Linked DNA regions of Homo sapiens: regions 1 and 2 are each linked to region 3. The links are contacts of gene promoters, found by promoter capture Hi-C in human tissues and cell types (Jung and others, 2019). All regions are on one chromosome and are shown on one strand. The core of a region is centred on a gene start or on the middle of the fragment in contact, and the rest is flanking DNA. Distances in the headings are between cores, read along the strand shown. Region 1 holds the start of LOC124904780 (a long non-coding RNA gene). Region 2 holds the start of ZNF132 (zinc finger protein 132). Region 3 holds the start of ZNF586 (zinc finger protein 586).

Region 1 (4,544 bases), core at 79-2,578, 600 kb before region 3:
TGTTTTTTTCATTTCTGATCATCCAATTTAAAATTTTTTTTTCTAATTTGTTAACTATGTCACATAATGTCACAATGTACATGTCAAATAACGTCACTATGTACCTTAAATCCCCAAAACTTATCTTGCAAAACTGAAAATTTGTACTTCTTGACCAACATTTCCCCATTTCCCCTTCACTCAAGCCCCCGGCAACCACCATTTTACTCTCTGCTTCTATTTTTGATCCAACCTCACTGTTTGTGTCCACGCTCCTTAATTTTCTTGGTCATGAGACCACGAGCTTAGATAACACCTTAGACAATGAGACCAGTGACCCTGACCTGTTTCAGTTTAGTTATTTAAAATATTTTTCTTTCTTTTTTAAATTGTATTTATTTATTTATTTGTTTTGAGAGGGTCTTGCTCTGTCGCCCAGGCTGGAATGCAGTGGTGCAACCATGGCTCACTGCAGCCTCCGACTCCTGGGCTCAAGCGATCTTACCCCCTAGGGCTCCAAAAGTGCTCTGACAGTAAATGCATGAGCTACCATGCCCAGCCATCAAATTTTCAATCATTATAAATCTTAGAGCTGGAAATAATATCTCATTGTTTTATTTTTAATTTGAGCGCTAGCGTGCTTGAACACTTTTAATCAAATGTATTTGCCATATTTTATTTTTCTTTTATTAGCTTTCAGATTCTTTGCTTCTTTCTTAGGTAGAACATTTCTTTGAGACTTAAATATTATGCTGCATTTGTCCTATGTCCTGCAAGTGTTTTCTTAATTCAGTATTTTAAAATAATATTTTGTTTTTATGTTTTTTGTATCTTTATAGCATTCTTCTAAATTGGATCTATGTTTATTTTAATTGTCTAGTCAAAGTACTGACAAGGAGGAGTGAACTTCCTGAAAACGGAGAACAAGATGTGATGCCTTTTAGTAAATGTTTACCAAAAGACACAGGATTCCATTTCCAATTCCATATCGAGAACCTTTAAAATTGTACATAAAAATGCAGGTGAAGTCGTGGAGAAGGGAGGCCAACAGTGCACACAGGTAGTGCCTCTGGGGAAGAATCAGAAGTCATCCTGCATCCTAAATTCCTGACCTGACTTTTCTGCAGGGCGAGTATCTGACCTGTGCTACACCATCAGCAACACAAAGAAAACTTGATGAGCTTTTATTTCCTTTTATTTGTATGTTTCACTCCAGTTTTCAATTCCGTGCCCTCAAAAGCCCGGATATCATCACCGGTACCTCTTTTAAGCTTCACCTCTCTGTGCGGCTCCGCAAGTATGTTGGTCTCCCTGAGAGAGTGGGGCCTGCAACCTGCTGGGCGCAGGCGCCTTGAGCTGCCACGTCTGCCCTTTTACCGGCTTGGGTGCAGGCAAGGGAAATGCGTCCCCGGGCCGGGGGGCGCGAGCGGGGGTCCGGGGCCGCGAGCTGGGGTCCGGGGAGCGCGAGCGGGGGTCCGGGGGGCGGGGGCCGCGGGCCGCGAGGGGGGCGGGGGCCGCGAGGGGGCGGGGCGTGCGAGGGGGCGGGGGCGTGCGAGGGGGCGGGGGCGCGCGAGGGGGCGGGGCGCGCGAGGGGGCGGGGCGCGCGAGGGGGCGGGGCGCGCGAGGGGGCGGGGCGCGCGAGGGGGCGGGGCGCGCGAGGGGGCGGGGCGCGCGAGGGGGCGGGGCGCGCGAGGGGGCGGGGCGCGCGAGGGGGCGGGGCGCGCCGGGCTCGTCCTCTCCGCGGCGCTCAGTGGCAGCAGGGAGGGCCGGTGAGATGCCAGAGCAAGGTAGGGTCCTGTATTTGGGGACCGCTGACGTTTGGGTCCCCCTCCCGCGGCTGTTAGCGCTGCGTGGCCCGAGACCTGCGGTCGGGCGGGGATTAAGGCTGCTTTCCGGAGGGCCCCGGCCGCGTGGTCGCCCTGCCAGAGCGGTTGATGTCAGGCAGTGCTGGGAGGCGTTGCTCTCCGGGTTCGCTTCTCTCCTGTTGTCCTAACTCTGCATCTCTCCCGGGTGAATCACAGAGCTGTAAACTAAAAATCAAATTCTAAGCTCCCAGCCAACTGAATGGACCCCTCCTCTCAGCTAAGAGCATGGCAAACTTAACCGGAAACACTAGTTCGGCCGCGATAGGAAGGAGATGGGACATGCCTCATTTTACCCTCCTCTCTTTGAAATTCAGGCACAGGTCGGGCGCGGTGGCTCATGCCTGTAATCCCAGCACTTTCGGAGGCCGAGGTGGGTGGATCACATGAGGTCAGGAGTTCGAGACCAGCCTGGCCAACATGGAGAAACCCCGTCTCTACTAAAAATACAAAAATTAGCCAGGCGTGGTGGCGGGCGCCTGTATCCCAACTACTCAGGAGGCTGAGGCAGGAGAATTGCTTTAACCCGGGAGGTGGAGGTTGCAGTGAGCCGAGATCGCGCCACTGCCACTCCAGCCTCAGCACCAGAGCAAGACTACGCCTCAAAAAAAAAAAAAAAAAAAAAAGGAATTCAGGCACAGCTGACCAGTATTAACATTAAAACAATTTTTTTTTAGTATCTTCATGCTAAAGGGGTAAGTAGAAATTGCATGTAGCCTCCCATCAGTTTATTCCAAATAGCAAACATTTACCAAGCCCTGAGTTATTAACTACGTATTTTCTTTTTGTAAACCTTACAATTGAGCAGGCAAGTAATAACATTATCTCCATATTTTTAATGTGAGGAAACTGAGGCCCAGGAAGACGTGTAATTTGCCCAATATCAGGTATTCAGTATATTGGAGATTTGAAGGACAAGTTATTTATTTTGAAAAATGTATACCTTTTCCAAAGTTCCAACAATAATTCAATGAACACATTTATTTTGCCCCAGAATTGCCAATGATGTTATGTCCTATAAGGAGGCACCTAAGTATACAGTTTGTCCATTTGGGAGATTTGGATTTTGACTACTTGGTTAAGATGGTATCTACTAGATCTCTCCACTCTTTCTTCTTTGTAATTAATAAGTAATCTGTGGGTCAATTCTTTGCAATGTCTGAATAATATTAAGTCCCCCCACTTCAGCCTCTAGTTTTAGCCTCTGTTGATGATTCTTCCCTGAATCTGTGATCACTGCTTGTGGGGATTCTATTTCTATTACTTCTTTACATTTTATACTTATAAGTTGACACTCCTGTAAAGAACTTTACCCATCCCATTCTTTTTTCTTTTCTTTTTTTTTGTTTTTGAGAAAGAGTCTCACTCTTGTCATCCGGGCTGGAGTGCAGTTGCGCGATCTAGGCTCACTGCAGCCTCCGCCTCCCGATTTCAAGTGATTCTCCTGTCTCAGCTTCCCAAGTAGCTGAGACTACAGGCGTGTGCTACCACACCCAGCTAATTTTGTTTTTTTTGGGTTTTTTTTTTGTTTTTGTTTTTGTTTTTTTTTAGTAGAGATGGGGTTTCACCATGTTGGCCAGGCTGGTCTCAAACTACTGACCTCAGGTGATCCACCCCCCTCGGCCTCCCAAAGTGTTGAGATTACAGGCGTGAGCCACCGCGCCCGGCCCACCTCAGGTGATCCACCCCTCTCAGCCTCCCAAAGTGTTGAGATTACAGGCGTGAGCCACCACGCCGGGCCCACCTCAGGTGATCCACCCCCCTCGGCCTCCCAAAGTGTTGAGATTACAGGCGTGAGCCACCGCGCCCGGCCCACCTCAGGTGATCCACCCCTCTCAGCCTCCCAAAGTGCTGAGATTACAGGCGTGAGCCACCGCGCCCGGCCCATCCCATCCCATCCATTTTAAGTTAGTTAATTATTTTAGAAGCCACATGGAGTGGATGATTTTTATCTGCGGCATTATAATCCATTTATCTCATTGTATTGGTGCTCACACTACCCAGCATTAGCCTCTCCAAACTCAAGTAGGCTTGACTTTCTTATTTCTATCACAGAGCTCCTGAAACCCTTGGAATTTCCTGTGTGTTGAAATGTCTTTTGTTATTTTTAATGACTTTTTGATCACATCTCAGTTTATACCAATGAGATGGCTTAGGGTGGAGACCCTAGACAGCCTCAAGATGAAGCTGGTCACCAGAAAGATTAGAGAGTTGGAACTTTCAGTCCTACCCACCAACCTCTGTGAAGTGGAAAGGGTGGGATGGCTTGACATGAAGCTCTATAAAAACTCTTGGACAACAAGATTTTAGCTTTCCAGATTGCTGAACACATTCAGTGTTCCTGGAGAGGGCATGGAAGCTCCACACCTCTTCTCACATACCTTGCCCTGTGTATCTTTTCTGACTGTTTGTTTGTATCCTTTGTGATATCTTTTATTATAAAACAGTAAACATAAGCAAAGTGTTTCCCCGAGTTCTATGAGCCATTCTAGAAATGAGTTCTAGGGGGTTGTGGGAACCCCAATTCTAATGTAGTTGGTCAAAAGCACAGGCCACAACCAGGTGATTGTGACTGGCATCTGAAGTGAAGGGCAATTCTGTGGGACTTAGTCCTCAACCTATGGGATGTGACACTTCCTTCAAGTAGATAGTGTCAGATTTGAATTATAGGACACCTACTGGTGTCTCCTGGAAAACTGGGAT
Region 2 (4,254 bases), core at 1,073-3,572, 670 kb after region 3:
CCAGCCCTGTTCCTTCAACCATCAGCTGCCCAGAACCATAAGCAGATCTCAAATATCTCTTCCCTCTGATATCTTTGCCTTTGTATGTGTTGTCTCCTCCCCAGTCATAGCTGTCCTTGCTCTTCCTAACACTCAAATCCAAGATCCACTGGCCCCCACCTTGGCTTGGGGACTCAGCTTAGGCTGACCCTTTCTGATCTTGCCACTCCACCAGCCTGACAAAAACCCCAGGACCCTATTTAAGAAGAGATAACATGCCCTGACCACAAGAAGGATGGCCGCAACAATGTAGTGAGCTGTAGAGAAGCAAATCAACCTAAACCAAAGCCCAACTCTCATCCTACTTTTGCCGCTATGCTTCACTGTTGTCCTAGACCTACTCTCTGCTCAGGAGGCTCAGCCACTATCTTGAACCCAACCCACAACTGCATGCAGTGTCCACACACAAGCATCCATCCCTTGGATGTTTCCAGCCTAAACCCGACATAATTTCATAATCACATGTTTAGTGGTCTACTTGGCACCTCAATTTGGTAGTGTCTGGGACATCTCAAATACAACATGGCCAAAATCCAACTCTTTATCTTCCCCCTGAAATCTACTCCTCACACCAACTTCCACATCTGAAAGATCTAAGGTCAATTTTTTTTTTTTTTTTTTTGAGACAGAGTCTCGCTCTGTCACCCAGGTTGGAGTGCAGTGGCGCGATCTTGGCTCACTGCAAGCTCCGCCTCCCGGGTTCAAGCCATTCTCCTGCCTCAGCCTCCCGAGTAGCTGGGACTACAGGCACCCACCACCACGCCTGACTAATTTTTTGTATTTTTAGTAGAGATGGGGTTTCACCGTGTTAGCCAGGATGGTCTCAATCTCCTGACCTAGTGATCCACCTGCCTCGGCCTCCCAAAGTGCTGGGATTACAGGCGTGAGCCACCACGCCCGGCAATTTTTTTTTTTTTTTAAGACAGAGTCTCGCTCTGTCACTCAGGCTGGAGCGCAGTGGCACGATCTCAGCTCAATGCAACCTCCATCTCCCAGATTCAAACAGTTCTTCTGCCTCAGTTTCCCAAGTTGCTGGGATTACAGGTGCACACTACCATGTCCTGGCTAATTTTTCTGTATTTTTAGTAGAGGTGGGGTTTCGCCACGTTGGCCAGGCTGGTCTTGAACTCCTGACCTCAAGTGATCTGGCCGCCTTGGCCTCCCAAAGTGCTGGGATTACAAGTGTGAGCCACTGCACTCAGCCTTAGGTCAATCTTAACATTTCACTTTCTTTCACTGTCCCACATCAGGTAATCCATGGCCCAGTTTGGGCAGATTCAGAAGCCAACCATCTGTCCTACCTCCACGGGCACCCCTCTGTCCAGCTACCCAAAGCACACATCTGGACCACATCTGTCAGCTCCTCACTGGCCTTCCTGCTCCACCATCACCATCCCTCCAGTCTGCTGCCCACTAGGCATCCATAGGGCGTCTGTTAAGACTGGAGTCAGAGCACCTACTTCCTCTACTCCAAACCTTCCATGGCTCCCACCACCATCAGAATAGAGGTCCAGCTCCTCAGGCTGCCATTCCAGGCCTAACTATTGGTTTCCCTTCCCTGTTTCCACCAGACTAAATGGAGACCGGCAGTCCCCAGAATGCTTCCATTTCATCACCACTAAACAAGGTACACATGCTGGTCACTGTCCCTGGGACAGCCTTCCAGATCTCATTCCACAGGATTCCAGAAATGGGAATCCCTCGATATAACCCCTTGCCTGGATTCAGGATGGTAAGGGTAAGTGACTCCCAGGGCAGGGCCCAGGACCCACGTGTGAGGACAGGACACGATCAAGAGTCCCAGGACACCAACATCCCCTCTATCTGGGCTTCAGGATCCTGAGGGCCGGAATCCCAGCGGGTGAGGGCCTGGGGCACACTCCACTTACCTGCGCCGGGCCCATCAGCAACGCTGGCAACCCCATTAGAACCTGTGGGCTGGGCAGGGCCATAACAGGAGGCCCAGGGCTAGCCCTGCCGCTGGGCCGAACCCTCACACTTCCGCTGGGTGACGGTCGCACTCAGGACCTGTCTTCCCAAATGCAAAATGCGCGCAAGGCCTCTGGGCACCGCAGGGACGAAGGCTGGGTATGGAGACCCTGGAGACGCGTGGCGCTGGCTCCACTTTCGGGAACACCTTGGCTCATAAAAGCAGAGTAATTAGCCGGGCACTATGGTGCGTGTGAAGGCGCGGTGACGGTCCCTGCACCCACTCCCGTGCCCTGGTGTGGCTCCAGAGGCCTGCTGTAGCCCAACCCACCAGCAGCAAAATGAGGACCGCAATGGCGGCGCCGGAAGTCCCGCCTCTCAATGACAGCTCGGACTTGCCACTGGTCCGAGCTTTCATTGGCTCAAGGATCCCCGCCGTCTATGACGCTATTTCCCTATGCCCGTCACGCTACTGCTAGGTCGTTGCCAAGGTGATTGAGGAATGGCGTTTATTGCGTCGCTGCTCAGGCAACGCAAACTACATTATCCAGAAGGACCCTCGCGGTGCCTCAGGGCTGGCCATTGGCAGCCGAGGAGACAGGCACTTCCGGGCGGAGTGTAAGACGCTGGCCAATCACAGCCTGGCAGCGGGACTTCCGTCGTCGTCCTCGGACCATCACTTTGGCATTTCTCGATTTTGTCTGCTTCTGAAGGGACCGCGTTGTCAGGCGAGGGACGGAATCTTGGAGGCTCCCTGGGCCCATGGAAACAGGAGCGAGGAAGGCACGAGAGTCGGGGAAGTTCCGCCTTCTTGACATACAAGCGCCCCCACCGCGGCGAATATCGCCCCTGAGCCCAGTGTTCGCCCCCCACAACACCGCACCCCCCTTCCCCACCCTGTGCCTTAGATAAAGCCGGCCCAGTGGGACCCTCAGGTTGCACCGCGCGGAGGTGTCCGCGGCTCTCGGGAGTCGTCGCCCTTGGCGTTATGTTGGCTTTAGGGAGCGCGAGGCCGAGGCCAAGAAAAGCTACGCATTGGGAGGTCTTGACCCAGTGTGCGCCCGGCTGTAGGCATGGAACGTGCGCCAAAGGTCTCCTGGCACCCACTCCGCTGGACTCAGCACCATTGTCCTAAGTCTCCGATTGAGAAGTATCTGCCCCAGGTCCTCTGCGGGCCCCACTGAACAGTGTGGAGCGTTCACAGGTTGGGGGTCACCATTTCAGAATCCAGTTTGTTGAGACGTGGAGGGTACAGGAGGAGGGATCTGCATATGCGAAGACTTGGACTTGACCCTGACCTGAGCGTTCAGGCAGGCTCTCATGCCCCCTTGGCAGCGAGTGGAGAGCGTAAGAGGAGTCCTGCCTCTCCTGGCACACCGAGGGCGCCTGGGAGCCATGAAAGGTGTTGAACAGAAAAGGGATGGACATGACCTGAGTTAGAATTTGGAAAGTATTTCAGTGGTTGCTGAATGAACACACTACTGGAGAAGGTGGTTGTAGTGGGGCTGGAAGCAGGGAGACTGTGGGGGAGGTTATTGCAGTATTGTTCCAGACAGTTATGATAGTGGCCTGTCCAGAACGGAAGCAAGAAGGATGGGAGAAGTGATCAGATTCCCAGTGGATCTTCAAGATAGAGCTAATGGAATTTTTTGCTACCTTAGATAAGTGGAATAAGCATGAGTAGGGGTGAAGGACCATCCCAAGTAGTTAGGAAGAATTAGGATGCCTCCTGTGGAGAATAGAGGTTGGCAGTTGGCAGGAGGAGGATGTTTCATGGAAGATTAGCGATGGATTTTGTAGGTATAGAGTCTGAATTGTCTGGAGACCTGTGAGTGGAGGTGTCAAATGGGCCTCTGGATATATAGAATTCTGGTGTGGCTTCAGGACGTCCAGACTGCATTATGTTGGTGGCCTGGCCCAGTGAACGGCCTGAGGATAGGATTTGGGAAGGAGGGTTTTAGGTTGGAGGACCAGTGGCTAGGGCTCACGCTCAGTGCTTAGATCACATCTGTCTGCCCATTGGCTTGGTGTTGCAGGGCTTAATGACCTTTGAGGACAGGGTCAGTACATCTTCCAAGAATGTGGGGCTCCTTAGTGAGGTCCAAGGGGGCTTCTACAGTGACATGATACTACAGAGCTTTGTACTCCAGTGCCCACTAGGTAAGGCTACTGTGTCTCCTCTTTCCCCTACACATGAAATCTAGGTTTTCCTCCGCCTTTCCATTGTTCCCTCTGGGAGGTGCTGCTGGCCCTGGCACTGGCCAGTGTCCTGCTGTGTCCGGAATT
Region 3 (4,049 bases), core at 95-2,594:
AGCACTTGCCAGCAAAGAGGTGAACGCATGGATTTAAGGCACTTGAAATATCTCAGTGTAAAAGCACCCTGTGCATGTAGCAGGACGAGCCGCAGACAAAACCTCTCAGACACCGAGTTGCAGAAGGAAGGGCTTTATTCAGCTGGGAGCATTGGCCAGCTACTGTCTCAAAATCTGAGCTCCCGGAGTGCACAATTTCTGTCCCTTTTAAGGGCTCACAACACTAAAGATTTCACATGAAAGGGTCGTGATTGATTTGAGCAAGCAAGGGGTATGTGACAGGGGCTGCATGCACCGGTGGTCAGGGAGGAACAGAACAGGGCAGGGAGTTTCACAATGTTCTTCTATACAATCTAAGGAATCTATGAATAACATCGGCTTCTAAATCATAAGTTGATTTTTAACTACTGGGTTTAGGCCAGGCGGGCCTAGGCCTGGTTTCGGGCCTGGCGCGGGGTTGCCTGTCTTTGGTTTTACTTCCTTGTTGTTTTTACTGAATATAAAACAATGTGAGAGGGTCTCTCTCTTCTCTCATGCATACATACTCCATGTTTGAACACCGCAGCCATTGTCCTGTAACATAATAGCATTTGTCTCATTAGCTTTTTGATGTTGATATCAGATTTCTAGAGGAATCTGTAGGTTAAAGATATAAATAAAAGTGTTGCTAATGGGCTGAGAACGGTGGTTCACGCCTGTAATCCTAGCACTTCGGTAGACCATTGCAGGCAGATCACTTGAGGCCAGAAGTTCGAGACCAGCCTGGCCAAAATGAGGAAACCCCGTCTCTACTAAAAATACAAAAATTAGCAGGGTATGGTGGCACACGCCTGTAATCCCAGCTACTCGGATGGTTGAGGCACGAGAATCGCTTGAACCCGGGAGGCATAGGCTGCAGTGAGCCAAGATCACACCACTGCACCCCAGCCTGAGTGACAGAGAGAACTATGTCTTAAAAAAAAGACAAAAAAAAAAAAAAAAGGAAGAAGCCGAGCATCACAAATTCTGAAATAAGAAGTCTCCAAACACGCGGGCAATCAGTTGCACACAGTACCCCCAGAAATGTGCGTATGGCCTCTTCTAAGATGGGAGACCCTCCTCCGCATCTGGACCTGGAGTCGCCATTTCCTAGCGCCCCTCGCAGTGGAGCTTGCCCCTTTCTTCGGAAAGTCGGAAGAAAGCCACCTTAAGCGCTGCCCATGTCTGGGAACTACATTACCCAGAATCCGCCCTGCGAAATGGTAACGTGGCTGAGCCAATGAAGCTTCAGAGAAGCCGTGCCATTGCCGGGGCACGTAAAGTCAAGCCAGGACTTCCGGCGTCCTAGCCGTGGCAGCCATTTTGGCCTGTCAGGTCCATCCGGCGATGCTGGGTCTGGACGAGCTCGGGAGGAGTGGTTGTGGCCATTGCACACAGGCGGATCTGAGGTTCGGCGACGCCGCTGGTCGCGACCCGGGACAGGACAACGACAGGAACACCGCCGAGCCCGCGTTCCCCCCCCGCCCAGAGTCATGGCGGCAGCAGCCGCTCTGAGGGCGCCTGCTCAGGTGAGCGCTGCGACCTCCGGGCCTTACCCACCCTACCCACCCAGACCCTGAGGCCCCTGATCGTGAGGGCCGCCTCCTCGCGTCCCTGCAGCCCAGGCCTCTGTCAGGGACGGAGAGGCGCCGGCGGGTGGGATCCCTGTTTCCGACACCCAGTTGATGCGGTCGGCAGAGCGAGACTGGCGGAGGGCAAAGGCCTGCAGGCGCGACTGAGGCAGGAGGATGCGGAACACGGGGACATCGTGTGTCTACTGGGAAAGAAGTGTGATACGGAGTTATTTCTTTTTTTTTTTTTTTTTGAGACGGAGTCTCACTCTGTCGCCCAGGCTGGAGTGCAGTGGCGCGATCTCGGCTCACTGCAAGCTCCACCTCCCCGGTTCAAGCGATTCTCCTGCCTCAGCCTCCCGAGTAGCTGGGATTACAGGCATGCGCCACCACGGGGTTTCACCATGTTGGCTAGGCTGGCCTCGAACTCCTGACCTTAGGTGATCCGCCCACCTCGGCCTCCCAAAGTGCTGGGAATACAGGCGTGAGCCACCGCGCCTGGCCGAGGCGGAGTTGTTTCTTCAGTACCAGGCTGAGGGTTGAACTTTGACTGTGAGGACGCTAAAAGCCATGGACAGTTTTGAACAAAGGAGGAAATCTGTGTTAGAGTTGCGATTCCCAAAAGATGTTCGAAGGAAGAACAGAGTTGAAGGCAGTGATGAGGACATTGAGAGGTTGAATCATTGAGAGGTGACATTGAGCACTGGGCCACAAGATTAGAGACTCAGTCTGAAGTCATCTGGCTGCAGGGCCAAAAAAAGCTTACAGAGAAGCCTGAGTCTATCAAATCCGAGCACAGACACATTTGTGAAAGCCCTGCCTTTTGGCACACCTCATGGCTACAGAAGCACTTACAGAATCCACAGTAGGAAGTAGGGGATGCTCTAGTCCTTCACTGGTCCTCATCCTATCCCACATGTCTAGATCTTGGCATCTTTTTTTTTTTTCGGCGACGGGTTCTCACTCAACACCCAGGCTGGGTTGCGGTGACGCGATCACGGCGCAGCACGGCCTCGACCTCTCCGGGCTCAGGAGAGCCTCTCATCTCAGTCTCCCGAGTAACTGGCTTTTTGTATTTTTAGTAGAGGTGGGGTTTCACGGCCGGGCGCGGTGGCTCACGCCTGTAATCCTAGCACTTTGGGAGGCCGAGGCGGGCGGATCACGAGGTCAGGAGTTTGAGACCATCCTGGCTAACACGGTGAAATCCCCCCTCTACTAAAAATACAAAAAATTAGCCAGGCCTGGTGGCACACACCTGTAGTCCCAACTACTTGGGAGGCTGAGGCAGGAGAATCGCTTGAACCCGGGAGGCAGAGGTTGCAGTGAGCCGAGATCGCGCCACTGCACTCCAGCCTGGGCGACAGAGAAAGACTCCGTCTGAAAAAAAAAAAAAAAAGAGAGAGAGAGAGATGGGGTTTCGCCATGTTGCCCAGGCTAGTCTCGAACCCTTGGGCTCAAGCAGTCCTCTTGCTTCGGCTTCCCAAAGTGCTGGGATGCCAAGCAGGAACTACCGCACCTCCTAGGACACTTAAGTGCCATTTCTCCGGTCCTTCAATCTGGGGATCTTGGAAAAACCTCAAACCCCAAACCTACATCAGTGACATAGGTTATGGGGAGTTGTTGCTATGTCTGTCAACTAATGTAACACATGTGGAGGGTTCACCCAGGAACTGATACTGGGGTGTGCAAATACTTACTTAGAAGTGAAACTAGAGGGGTGAGGTGATGTTACCAATTTCTTAATAGGCGCTGTCTGGTTACTGAGTGGGCAACAGACTGTGGGGTTGAGGGAGGAGGAAGATCAAACTGGAAGCTACTGCCCTAGTCGAGGTGAGGATTAATGGACTAGAGTTGTGGCTTAGGCAATGTGGCTAGATCTGGATTTGTGTTTTTTAGAGGGGCAAGTCAATTTTTTTTTTCCCAAGATGGAGTCTGGACCTGTTGCCCAGGCTGGAGTGCAATAGTGGAATCTTGGCTCACTGCAACCTCCGCCTCCTGAGTTCAAGCGATTCTCCTGCCTCAGCCTCCGAAGTAGCTGGGATTACAGGCGCGCGCCTCCACACCCAGCTAATTTTTGTATTTTTAGTAGAGACTAGGTTTCGCCATATTATCCAGGCTGCCTCGAACTCCTGACCTCGTGATCCACCCGCCTTGGCCTCCCAAAGTGCTGGGATTACAGGCTTGAGCCACCGTGCCCAGCCTGGCAACTCAATTTTTAAATGTGAACAGTGAGAGCTTGAGAGGATTCAGGAAACACCCCTGGGTTTTTTATCTTAGCAGCTGTAGCAATGGGAGCTGCATCAACTGAGATGAGCAAGTTGATAGCAGGTGTAATATTCACTGAGGCTATCAGGAGGTTTGTTTTGGCCATTCTGCGTGGAAAAAAATACAAATTGCTTTTGCTCTGCTCTCCCCCACAACAATCAACACAGAGTACTTCTGTGACTAGATAATGTGTGG

The links. The method cuts DNA at HindIII sites, captures the fragments that hold promoters and counts their contacts. A contact is called where the count stands out against the background at its distance.
Region 1: a contact is called between a fragment that was not itself captured here and the fragment with the promoter of ZNF586 in region 3, in 1 of the 25 tissues and cell types used here (hippocampus).
Region 2: a contact is called between the fragment with the promoter of ZNF132 here and the fragment with the promoter of ZNF586 in region 3, in 1 of the 25 tissues and cell types used here (heart right ventricle).

Annotation. Positions count from the first base shown.
Region 1 is chr19:57,170,531-57,175,074 of GRCh38, forward strand. It overlaps LOC124904780 (a long non-coding RNA gene), which reads left to right and starts at 1,714. Exons shown (of 2, transcript XR_007067355.1): 1 at 1,714-1,766. RefSeq lists a silencer at 1,301-1,350 and an enhancer at 1,682-1,741. The HindIII fragment of the contact is 4,103 bases long and covers 1-3,380 here.
Region 2 is chr19:58,437,831-58,442,084 of GRCh38, forward strand. It overlaps ZNF132 (zinc finger protein 132), which reads right to left and starts at 2,323. Exons shown (of 3, transcript NM_003433.4): 1 at 1,929-2,323. The coding sequence starts at 1,991. It overlaps ZNF132-DT (ZNF132 divergent transcript), which reads left to right and starts at 2,618. Exons shown (of 1, transcript NR_186311.1): 1 at 2,618-4,254. It also overlaps a transcript of ZNF324B not described here. RefSeq lists enhancers at 1,989-2,499, 2,732-2,861, 3,011-3,520. The HindIII fragment of the contact is 13,144 bases long and covers 1-4,254 here.
Region 3 is chr19:57,768,332-57,772,380 of GRCh38, forward strand. ZNF586 (zinc finger protein 586) reads left to right here and starts at 1,345. Exons shown (of 3, transcript NM_017652.4): 1 at 1,345-1,547. The coding sequence starts at 1,512. RefSeq lists enhancers at 1,069-1,608, 1,330-1,579. The HindIII fragment of the contact is 4,771 bases long and covers 26-4,049 here.